Regions from separate parts of the Homo sapiens genome. Here regions 1 and 3 are each linked to region 2. The links are contacts of gene promoters, found by promoter capture Hi-C in blood cells and fetal thymus (Javierre and others, 2016). All regions are on one chromosome and are shown on one strand. The core of a region is centred on a gene start or on the middle of the fragment in contact, and the rest is flanking DNA. Distances in the headings are between cores, read along the strand shown. Region 1 holds the start of NRAS (NRAS proto-oncogene, GTPase). Region 2 holds the start of SASS6 (SAS-6 centriolar assembly protein). Region 3 holds the start of PKN2-AS1 (PKN2 antisense RNA 1).

Evidence for each region. Contacts are between HindIII fragments. The CHiCAGO score rates a contact against its expected background, and 5 or more counts as called.
Region 1: a contact is called between the fragment with the promoter of NRAS here and the fragment with the promoter of SASS6 in region 2, in 1 of 17 cell types (total B cells). The highest score is 5.9, in total B cells.
Region 3: a contact is called between a fragment that was not itself captured here and the fragment with the promoter of SASS6 in region 2, in 1 of 17 cell types (fetal thymus). The highest score is 5.2, in fetal thymus.

What each region holds. Positions count from the first base shown.
Region 1 is chr1:114,714,642-114,718,020 of GRCh38, reverse strand. It overlaps NRAS (NRAS proto-oncogene, GTPase), which reads left to right and starts at 1,250. Exons shown (of 7, transcript NM_002524.5): 1 at 1,250-1,363; 2 at 1,844-1,971. The coding sequence starts at 1,861. CSDE1 (cold shock domain containing E1) reads left to right here. Exons shown (of 20, transcript NM_001007553.3): 20 at 1-1,105. RefSeq lists enhancers at 1,245-1,444, 1,455-1,554. The HindIII fragment of the contact is 3,751 bases long and covers 1-1,788 here.
Region 2 is chr1:100,131,335-100,134,600 of GRCh38, reverse strand. It overlaps SASS6 (SAS-6 centriolar assembly protein), which reads left to right and starts at 1,671. Exons shown (of 17, transcript NM_194292.3): 1 at 1,671-1,851. The coding sequence starts at 1,787. TRMT13 (tRNA methyltransferase 13) reads right to left here and starts at 1,438. Exons shown (of 11, transcript NM_019083.3): 1 at 1,286-1,438. The coding sequence starts at 1,432. RefSeq lists enhancers at 1,224-1,753, 1,764-1,883, 1,288-1,890 and a silencer at 1,886-2,049. The HindIII fragment of the contact is 1,832 bases long and covers 1,492-3,266 here.
Region 3 is chr1:88,684,483-88,687,788 of GRCh38, reverse strand. PKN2 (protein kinase N2) reads right to left here. Exons shown (of 22, transcript NM_006256.4): 1 at 3,161-3,306. The coding sequence starts at 3,208. It overlaps PKN2-AS1 (PKN2 antisense RNA 1), which reads left to right and starts at 2,585. Exons shown (of 4, transcript NR_110682.1): 1 at 2,585-2,625. RefSeq lists an enhancer at 3,242-3,306. The HindIII fragment of the contact is 611 bases long and covers 1,275-1,885 here.

The DNA of each region.
Region 1 (3,379 bases), core at 1-2,500, about 15 Mb before region 2:
GTTATGTTTAAAAAAATAAATAAATTTAAGAAAACCATTTTAAATAATGCACAGTTGCAGCCTGGAAAAACTTAAGGTGGCGCCTTATAGTATCAATTTTAGGAGCTTTATTTGGTGCATTTAACGCAACTGGTAATTGCAGAATCCACTTTGCCTGTGTAAGTGAAAAATATAGACTGTTATCTTGTTGGCCCTATGAAATTCTGCACTTTTCATTATATACTCTACCTTCATTAATTACTTCTGGCAAGATGTTCTGCCTTAGCACTCAGTTGCATTCTTTTCCTTTTTCTTCCTGTTCATTATGCTTTAATTCTGAGGACCATATGAGGGTAGAATATATTATCTTTTAAAAATTACAAAAATTTGTATAGGCAAACCATTTCTTAAAGTTGATGGCCAAATTTTAAAATGTTATTTTTCATATCATTTATAATCTTGTCACAATCCACTTAAAGAAGTTTGGTTATATTTCAGTGAAAATTTTCTTCCAGAGTAGGTTTTTTTTCGTGGGTTGGGGGGTAACTTTACTACAATTAGTAAGTATGGTGCAGAATTTCATGCAAATGAGGAGTGCCAGCAGTGTGATAATTTAAACATATTTAAACAAAAACAAAAAAAATGAATGCACAAACTTGCTGCTGCTTAGATCACTGCAGCTTCTAGGACCCGGTTTCTTTTACTGATTTAAAAACAAAACAAAAAAAAATAAAAAAGTTGTGCCTGAAATGAATCTTGTTTTTTTTTATAAGTAGCCGCCTGGTTACTGTGTCCTGTAAAATACAGACACTTGACCCTTGGTGTAGCTTCTGTTCAACTTTATATCACGGGAATGGATGGGTCTGATTTCTTGGCCCTCTTCTTGAATTGGCCATATACAGGGTCCCTGGCCAGTGGACTGAAGGCTTTGTCTAAGATGACAAGGGTCAGCTCAGGGGATGTGGGGGAGGGCGGTTTTATCTTCCCCCTTGTCGTTTGAGGTTTTGATCTCTGGGTAAAGAGGCCGTTTATCTTTGTAAACACGAAACATTTTTGCTTTCTCCAGTTTTCTGTTAATGGCGAAAGAATGGAAGCGAATAAAGTTTTACTGATTTTTGAGACACTAGCACCTAGCGCTTTCATTATTGAAACGTCCCGTGTGGGAGGGGCGGGTCTGGGTGCGGCCTGCCGCATGACTCGTGGTTCGGAGGCCCACGTGGCCGGGGCGGGGACTCAGGCGCCTGGGGCGCCGACTGATTACGTAGCGGGCGGGGCCGGAAGTGCCGCTCCTTGGTGGGGGCTGTTCATGGCGGTTCCGGGGTCTCCAACATTTTTCCCGGCTGTGGTCCTAAATCTGTCCAAAGCAGAGGCAGTGGAGCTTGAGGTAAGTTTATCTCATGCATAGTGTTCGGCTTTGGGCTGTGGAATGTTCAGGCGTTTCACTGATGCCAGAAATGGAGCAGAATCTATCAGCTGGAGACAAAGGCCTTGGGCGGGGGTCCTTCCATTTGGTGCCTACGTGGGGAGATCTTTGGAGACAGAAGGGAGAATGGGAAGGAGTTGCGGCCTGGAGGCTTCCTGCTAGAGCTGAGAAGCCTTCGGGGAGTAATAGGAAGGGGGATTTCCATTGCTTAGGCTGAGGGCGGGGCCCAAGGACTGTTGAAAAATAGCTAAGGATGGGGGTTGCTAGAAAACTACTCCAGAAGTGTGAGGCCGATATTAATCCGGTGTTTTTGCGTTCTCTAGTCACTTTAAGAACCAAATGGAAGGTCACACTAGGGTTTTCATTTCCATTGATTATAGAAAGCTTTAAAGTACTGTAGATGTGGCTCGCCAATTAACCCTGATTACTGGTTTCCAACAGGTTCTTGCTGGTGTGAAATGACTGAGTACAAACTGGTGGTGGTTGGAGCAGGTGGTGTTGGGAAAAGCGCACTGACAATCCAGCTAATCCAGAACCACTTTGTAGATGAATATGATCCCACCATAGAGGTGAGGCCCAGTGGTAGCCCGCTGACCTGATCCTGTCTCTCACTTGTCGGATCATCTTTACCCATATTCTGTATTAAAGGAATAAGAGGAGAGAAAGTAAAAAGTTATTTTGGGTATACATTCAGTTATGCAATAAGCTTAACGTGTTTATAGAGAACAGTTCATTTTTATTAGCTGCTGAAGTTTCTAAAACCTGTCCAGTTTTTAACAGTTCTGTAAACTATTGCAAACTCAGTGTTGAGTTCATTCATGAGTTTCTTCATATATAACAGCTCTATTACATGAGAAACACAGGCCATAGTAGCGAGACTGTCTGATTGTATGGGAGATAATAGGATGGAGATAAAGGATTCAGAGATGAGTGTTCTTCAATATTTATTTATTAGCTAGTTGAAGCAGCTGAGACCAGATGATTGGAGTAGCAAGAACTTGAGATTTTTAGTCTTTATGCCTAGGATTTTGGTCCCTGTTTGCAGTTTATTTAGTTGTGTGATATTGAGCAACTGAATCTCTCCCAACCTCATTTTCCTCATGTTTTAAATTACCATAAACTTGTCCTGCCTACCACACAGGGATGTTATGGAAAGTTAAATAATATATTTAAGTTATTTATGAATGGTAAAGCACTATGTAATAGTACTTAGGGATTCTATTGTTATTATGAGAGTTCATGGTACAGATTGTCTTCAGTAAGTGGCACCTAAGGCTCTTTAAATAAAGGGTTTTGCCGGACACGGTGGCTCACGCCTGTAATCCCAGCACTTTGGGAGGCTGAGGCAGGCGGATCACAAGGTCAGGAGTTCAAGACCAGCCTGATCAACATGGTGAAACCCCGTCTCTACTAAAAATACAAAAATTAGCTGGGTGTGGTGGCAGGCACCTGTAATCCCAGCTACTCAGGAGGCTGAGGCAGGAGAATCGCTTGAACCAGAGGCAGAGGGTGCAGTGAGCCGAGATCACACCACAGACCTCCAGCCTGGGCAACAGAGCGAGACTTCGTCTCAAAAAATAAATAAATAGATAAATAAATAAAGGGTTTTGTAATTTTGTTCAGTTTAGAAATGCCTAACTTTAGAGATTATTTTAATCAACACCTGGCCTCCCTACCATCTGGCTACTCGTGTTTAATTGATGAAAACTAACTCTAATGTAGCCACTATAAAAAATTGGTTGCTAACCCTTGGCAAAATCTTTATTTTGAGCTTAACAGCTTTAATATTTTACATGAAATGTTTAATATTTTAATTAAATATTTTTAAATGTTTGATTTATTGAGCAATTTACATAAGTAAAATACATAAATTTTATGTCTACAGCCCAGTGCTTTTTGCGTTTCTATATAGTCATGTAGCTACCACCCAGATAACAGTATAGAGCACTTCCAGTACTCCAGAGAGTTCTCCAAGTG
Region 2 (3,266 bases), core at 422-2,921:
ATCACGTCTCCCATATTCCAAAACAAGAATGTCCTTGTTTCAGTATGCTTCACTTTTGGTAAATGCCAGTCAAAACAAAATAGGAAGTAGACTACAACTATGATGGAGAGTGGCAGATGAAGGGGGTCAGGGGACTGATCTGCACTGGATATTGTCTAGAAGAATAAATTCCTTAAGAAATAAAATAATGCAAATAATACTGAACATTCAGAAGCATGAAATCTGATGCTGATCGCTTTGGTTTATTCTTTATAGTTCTGTGGAACTATAAGGACATGCTCTCTTCCTATGAGCATTTTGCTCCTCTGGTTTTTATTTTCCCATCTCATATATATCCTAAAGTAATATACATATATACAAATATAAAGTGTTTGATAGTACATTTATATGCATAATTATCAAACAAAATTGTATGCTTTGTTCTCAATTGTAAAAGGTCAATTCGTATATATTTAAAAATCTTTCCTTCCCATTCCAGCAAAGTTGCATTCTTAAAAACTGTAAGTCGAAAAAAATTTTTTTTTCTTTTTTGAGATTCAGTCTGGCTGTCACCCAGGCTGGAATGCAGTGGTGTGATCTTGGATTATTGCCACCTCCACCTCCTGGGTTCAAGCGATTCTCCTGCCTCAGCCTCCCGAGTAGCTGGGGTTACAGGCTCGCACCACCACGATTTTCTTAATTTTAGTAGCTCGCGCCACGGCTGATTTTCTTATTTTTAGTAGAGAGAGGGTTTCATCATGTTGGCCAGGCTGGTCTCGAGCTCCTGACCTCAAGTGATCCGCCCGCCTCGGCCTCCCAAAGTGCTGGGATTACAGGCGTGAGCCACCGCGCCGGGCCTCAAGTCTAAATTTTTAAAAGAAAGTTTCTTCCAACCGCATTCACGAGAAGTGCTTCTCTTTCATGAAATAACAATTAGAACACAACTAGTGAAACCTTTGGGACTTCAATCACTACTTTTTCTAAACTACCACTTTCCAGCAGGAAGACGGAGCGGTAGCTTGGGGTAAAAATTAAAACCTAGCATTACCATGAGTTAAGATCGAGATAAATAGATCAAAATAAATGGGTCACTGCTGGCGCTTTACTTAGAAAAATAAAAAATTTCTCATCACTAGAACTCATAATCGCTCCGCAAGGAGGGCAAAACTGGGTTTATTAAAGTGAAAGCTGGAGAATCCAGGGGACACAAGCAGAAAGCTGTCAAAGAGGGGAGGGGCCGGGTTCCAGCACCGACAGGACCAGGATACTTATTTCCGACTCTTGAGAGAGTAGGGCGATACCACACCTCCGCGGCTCCAGCGTGTTCACCACAAAATCTTTTCCCTGCGGCCACCACCATCCTGCAGAACCGTTTCTTCTTTTCCACATAGTAACCGCATCTACCCTCAGCTGGAAAACCAGGCGCGTGCGGCGACGTCGCGGAGGTCGCCATAATTCTAGGGCTCGCTTCCGGTGTCCAGCATCCGGCAACCAGAAGAAAAGTTAGAAGCTTCCTTCGGGTCTCCTTCCCTTAACAAACATGGCTGCCTCAGCCCCCGCGCCACACAGGTTAATACCCGGAACTACCACAACCGTCTTCCCTTTATCCTCCGCAGAACCGGAAGAATCCGATGGTGGCTGGCGAGGGCCAAGTCTCTTACGCCTTCCCCTCGTTTCTCCCTCCCCGCCTCCTCCGCAGAAGCCGAGCGCCAAACTCAAACTTTATCAGGACCCGGACCTCTCAGGCTAATCCCGAGGGCCGGGCCTGTTGGGCTTTTCTGCACACCAGCCGAGGCAGCGAGCCAACATGAGCCAAGTGCTGTTCCACCAACTAGTCCCGTTGCAGGTGAAATGCAAAGACTGTGAGGAGAGGTAAGGTCCGCGTCATCCAGTGCCCGCGGGTGGCGGTTGGGGTCAGGCCAATGGGGAAAGATGGCGGTTCTGGCCCGTGGGATCCACCTTGCACCTAGGTGTCGAGTCGGCCCCCCTAGGAAGCGGATAGGGAACCCAGAGGGCCCGGTGGTTACCTCTCTCACCAAGTCGGCCGTTGCAGAGGGGACTGGAGGAAGGGTGTGAGGAGTTAGGAAGCCGGCTCACATCAAGTTAATGTCAAAAACCCTACCTGTGCACGGAATCGTGAAGATTATAGCCCTACTCTTCCCTTTTGACAGATAAGAACTCTGGCCCAGAGAAGTTAAAAAAATTTACGTGAGGGCTCACAGCCAGTTCATGGCAGGGTCAGGACTAGAACTCAGGCCTTGGCTCCGAGCCTTTCCCCCTCGTTCTCTTTTGAAGTATGTTGGCAGTAAAGTTCAACTTTTAAAAACCTACCAATTTGGTGGCGTACTTTGGCTCTTCACATCAGTTGCTTTAAAAAAGTAAATTACATTTAACCGACTAAAAATGAGAAAAGCAGAAACGTCATTAATTCATTCAATAAATATTGCCTCCTTGTAAAACACCTTACTGGGCACTGGGAATACAGTGGTCAGGAAAAACAGTCCTTTTCTTCATGGAGTTTACAATCACTGGAGGAAATAAAGACCAGTCGCACAGAGAAGTGCAACTTTGATTAAGGAGGTGGTATTATTGGGGCGTAAATAGATTTGACCAGAGGTCAGGAGACTTACTTTTTTTTTCTCAGTTCTAACACTCAATGGTTGTCTCTTTTTTTCTCTGAACGTTCTTTCCTCATTTGTAAAACTGATATAACATGCGTATTCACGTGTTTGTAATGAGGATCAGGTGTGAAATCTTTTGCGTATTCACGTGTTTGTAATGAGGATCAGGTGTGAAATCGTATGTGAAAACTAAGTGGTGTACAAATGTAACATAAAAAATGAAGACATTGCCTTATTGAGTTGCCAGTAATGTCAAACTGTAGTATATATAGTTCAGAATTCGGTCAAAAATCAATGGCAAGCCGGTCAAGGAGATGGTCCCAAAACCAGCAGCTGCATATGGAGATCTGTAGGTTTAGTTGATCATTCTTTTAATGCTGTCCAGTATGGTAGCCACTAGCCACATGTGGTTATTAGACATTTGAAATGGGGCTTATCTGAATTGTTGTGCTTTACATATGAAAATGCACGTTGGATTTTTAAGACTTACTATGAAAAAAGAATGTAAAATATGTCAATTTTTATATTATGTGTTAAATGGCAATATTTTTGGGTATATTGGGTTAAATACAATGTATTATTAAAATTAATTTCACCTGCTTTTAAAAGTCTTTTTAAAATGTGACTTCTAGAAAATTTAAAAGTAGGCTAGGTATGGTGGCTCAC
Region 3 (3,306 bases), core at 331-2,830, about 11 Mb after region 2:
TATAGCTTTGGTAGATACTACATAACTGTTTGGTGAAATTAACCCCTGTAATTTAAGGGTAACTATCTCAACTTTCCACTTGAGCAAGTTACCTCTATCTAAATAAAATCTGCTGAGAATGGAATTTAAGATTCCCAGACCAACACTTTATTGGGCATTTTGATGAAGAAAATGAATCTCCAATAATCAACAAGGTAGCTTTGTTAGTACACTGCTCAATATTTGGTCTGCATTCTACAAAATTACCATTGTAGCCAACACTTTCATTCTGAGATTCTTTACAGTTTTCATTAATCCAGGTTTCTTGGAAATAGACTTTAGTTTCTTTGGCATTGCAAAAATGTCTGTTTTCTGCTATACTTCAAATAAAAAAAGAGAATACAACACAACAAATTAGTTATGAGATAAAAATTAGAAATTGGCCATTTTAAACAGCCGATTTTTATTTTTACTACAGTAAATATTCTTCCTTATACCTTGAAACCTCTAGCCACCAAAGTTTACATAGTTTATTAATGCTTCCTTGTTGAATAAGCCTCCTGAATTACTAACAATACTTAAAAACATTACTCCATGCTATTACAGTAATTAACAAGACAGAATACTGTAGTTTCAGATTTTCTTACTTTGCCTTTCCATGACCAAAAGCCAATTCCAGCTCAAGCAGTGGAGTATTTCAAATTCTACAATTTGAAAAAATAATGAAAAGCTGGATATATTTCTAAATAAATATCAATTTTATTAAAGCCAGGTTGTAATATGTAACTTTCAGAGTAAACAAGTATTCCTGAGACAGGATACATAGCAAAGTAACAGTTTTAACCATTAAATACATCTTAAAACTGGCTACAAAACTTCTTAAATACTTAAAATCTGTATGGCAGAGAAGAATTAAGAACTTCATATTAAACAGTATTTCAGTCTAAATTCAAACAATTTAGAAGCTTTTTAAAAAAGTGAATCTTGAAACAAAAGTTTAATAAATACTTGGTTGCTGTACACTAAGTTTCAGGACCCAATGAAATAAAAAGTCTGAATAGATGGAAATATTTGGAGAAGCAAACTTTATGACTATTTATCTTTAAGTGTTGATATAAGTAATAGTCGCAAACATTTTAATAAACACGATAAAGTTTAAATGCAATAACTTTTATCAAAACTGGGAGTCAAATAAACCAAGAAAATGACTTGGATATATGACAACCTATAAGGTAACACTTAATAAAAACTATTCTTTTTCTGGAAGGGGTTATATTTCAGTTTATCTAGAAGCTTAACTTTAGGTATTCCTCTATTTTGGTCGTATTTCTAGGTCATCATATTTAAAATTTCTTCCTTCTTTGCTTGCTTCCTTGTTATTATCAAAATTGATCTTATTAATTAAAAGATCCTAAATGTTATTAATACACATGAAAATATATTTTCAGTTCCAGTGCCAAAGTAGGTGTCTTTTATGCCAACTTTCTATAACATACAAGTACCAATGCCAAATATATTGTAACTCTAACACTGCTCAATTCAAAAGAAAAGTGACCCTATCATCTTTCTCAATCAAAACCAAAGTATGTTTTTCATGGTTCAAGACCAGGCAATGTAAAGTATTTCTGACTTGCCTCACATCATCTTCATTTTAAAAGCTCATGTAAATTATTTACTATTAATAAAATAGTAAATTCCATTCATTTAGCAAATGTGGTATGCTGTAAGATCTGCTTATAAAAGGCTAACTGTAATTAAAATACTACATAGCAACATTTTCAATTATATGAAATTCAGCTTTGCATTACCAAAGGATTCTAAATGTGCAACACTGCATTGATATACATTGTTAAAGTCTCTATTTTTGTGGAGGAAATATCAACCATTATACCAAAGTTTTCAAGCTTACGTCTGACTGCACAAGAAACCAAACTTATAAAGAGATTTCTTAAAAAGTATATTTAAACAAGAAATTTAGATGCAGTTGCAATACTTAATTTTGACATCAACTCTTCAGAATTTCTTGATTTAGTCTTTTTTTTAAAAAAAATTAACTGTCCAACACACAAAAAGAAATGCAGGCATGCTATTTTTTTCTCCTAATTCCCATCTACAATCTTTGAGTAGCTAAAAGATAACTATATTAAAATAAAGCAAAATAACTTTTAAGTCAAAAAACAAACATCTCTGGAACACTCCCAAGTAATGAAAAACCCGACAGGGTAGCTTAAGTCCCCATGTACACCATAGAGATCTAAAGAAAATCGTGCCTACATTATCAAATATTTATCTGGAAATGGGAAATAACATTGCTACTCGACATGACTTAACTAAGCGATCTACTTTGCTCTCATCTTTTGCAGACATGTGGTGCCCAATGTTTTCCCTTAGTCGACTGCTTTCTCATTAGTAAACAACTTATTAGCTCTTTCTCTGGTGCTCAAATGAGAGGGAAAATGAAAGTCTGAAAAGCATCAGCATCTGAGCTCCCGGATCTGGGCAGGGGTAGCAGAGAAAGGCACCCTGTATTTATCACTCGGTTAAAAAAAAAAAAAGAAAGGAAAAGAAAAGAAAAAGATAACCCTCAAAATAGAGGAAAGAAACTCTGTCACCTGAAGAGGGCTGCTGAAGTGAAGCAAACATTTGGTGAGACTCGTTTTTTAAAAAAACTTGTCTAGGGGCTGGAAGTTATGGGGGCGCTCTTTGTGCGGAGTCTGAGGGGAGGGGGAGGGACAAGAAAACAGCTTGGGAGTCATTCAAAGGAGTTTAAGGAGCGGTGTACGGAGGAAAGGCGGGGCGGGGCCCGGCCGCGCGAAGGGAGGGGGCAACAGGGGCGTTCGCGGGTAGCTCTGACACCGAGGGAGGGGGCGACGGGCCGGCCTCTCCGGGGACCAGGCGAGAGCAGGCTCCCGCTGCAGCAGGGCTGCAGAGATGGGGTCCCCTCTGGTAGGCAGAATCAAACCAAAGCGGTGGCAGGCCAGGGCTTTGGCGGGGGAGAGGGTCCGGCTCCCCAGGGAAGCGGTTCCCCGAGGGAAGCATTTCCCGAGTGACATCCCGGAGTTTCCGCACTTAGCGGGCTAGGGGCGCGGCGGCCGCAGGGCTTTCCTCGGTCCCCGACGCCGCGCGGGGCTCTCTCCCTGTCTCCTCCGCCAGCGCCTCTCACCAGGGCCGCGGCCCTTACCTGCAGTTCCGTGAGCAGAATCTCCCCCCGTTCGGGGTTGGACGCCATTGCGCTCCGGTATGGACTCCGCACCTGGACGCGGCCGCCTCTGGCGAAGGGAGAAGGCGGGACGGGGCTCGGGGTGGGGGTGAGGAGAGGGGAGAGAA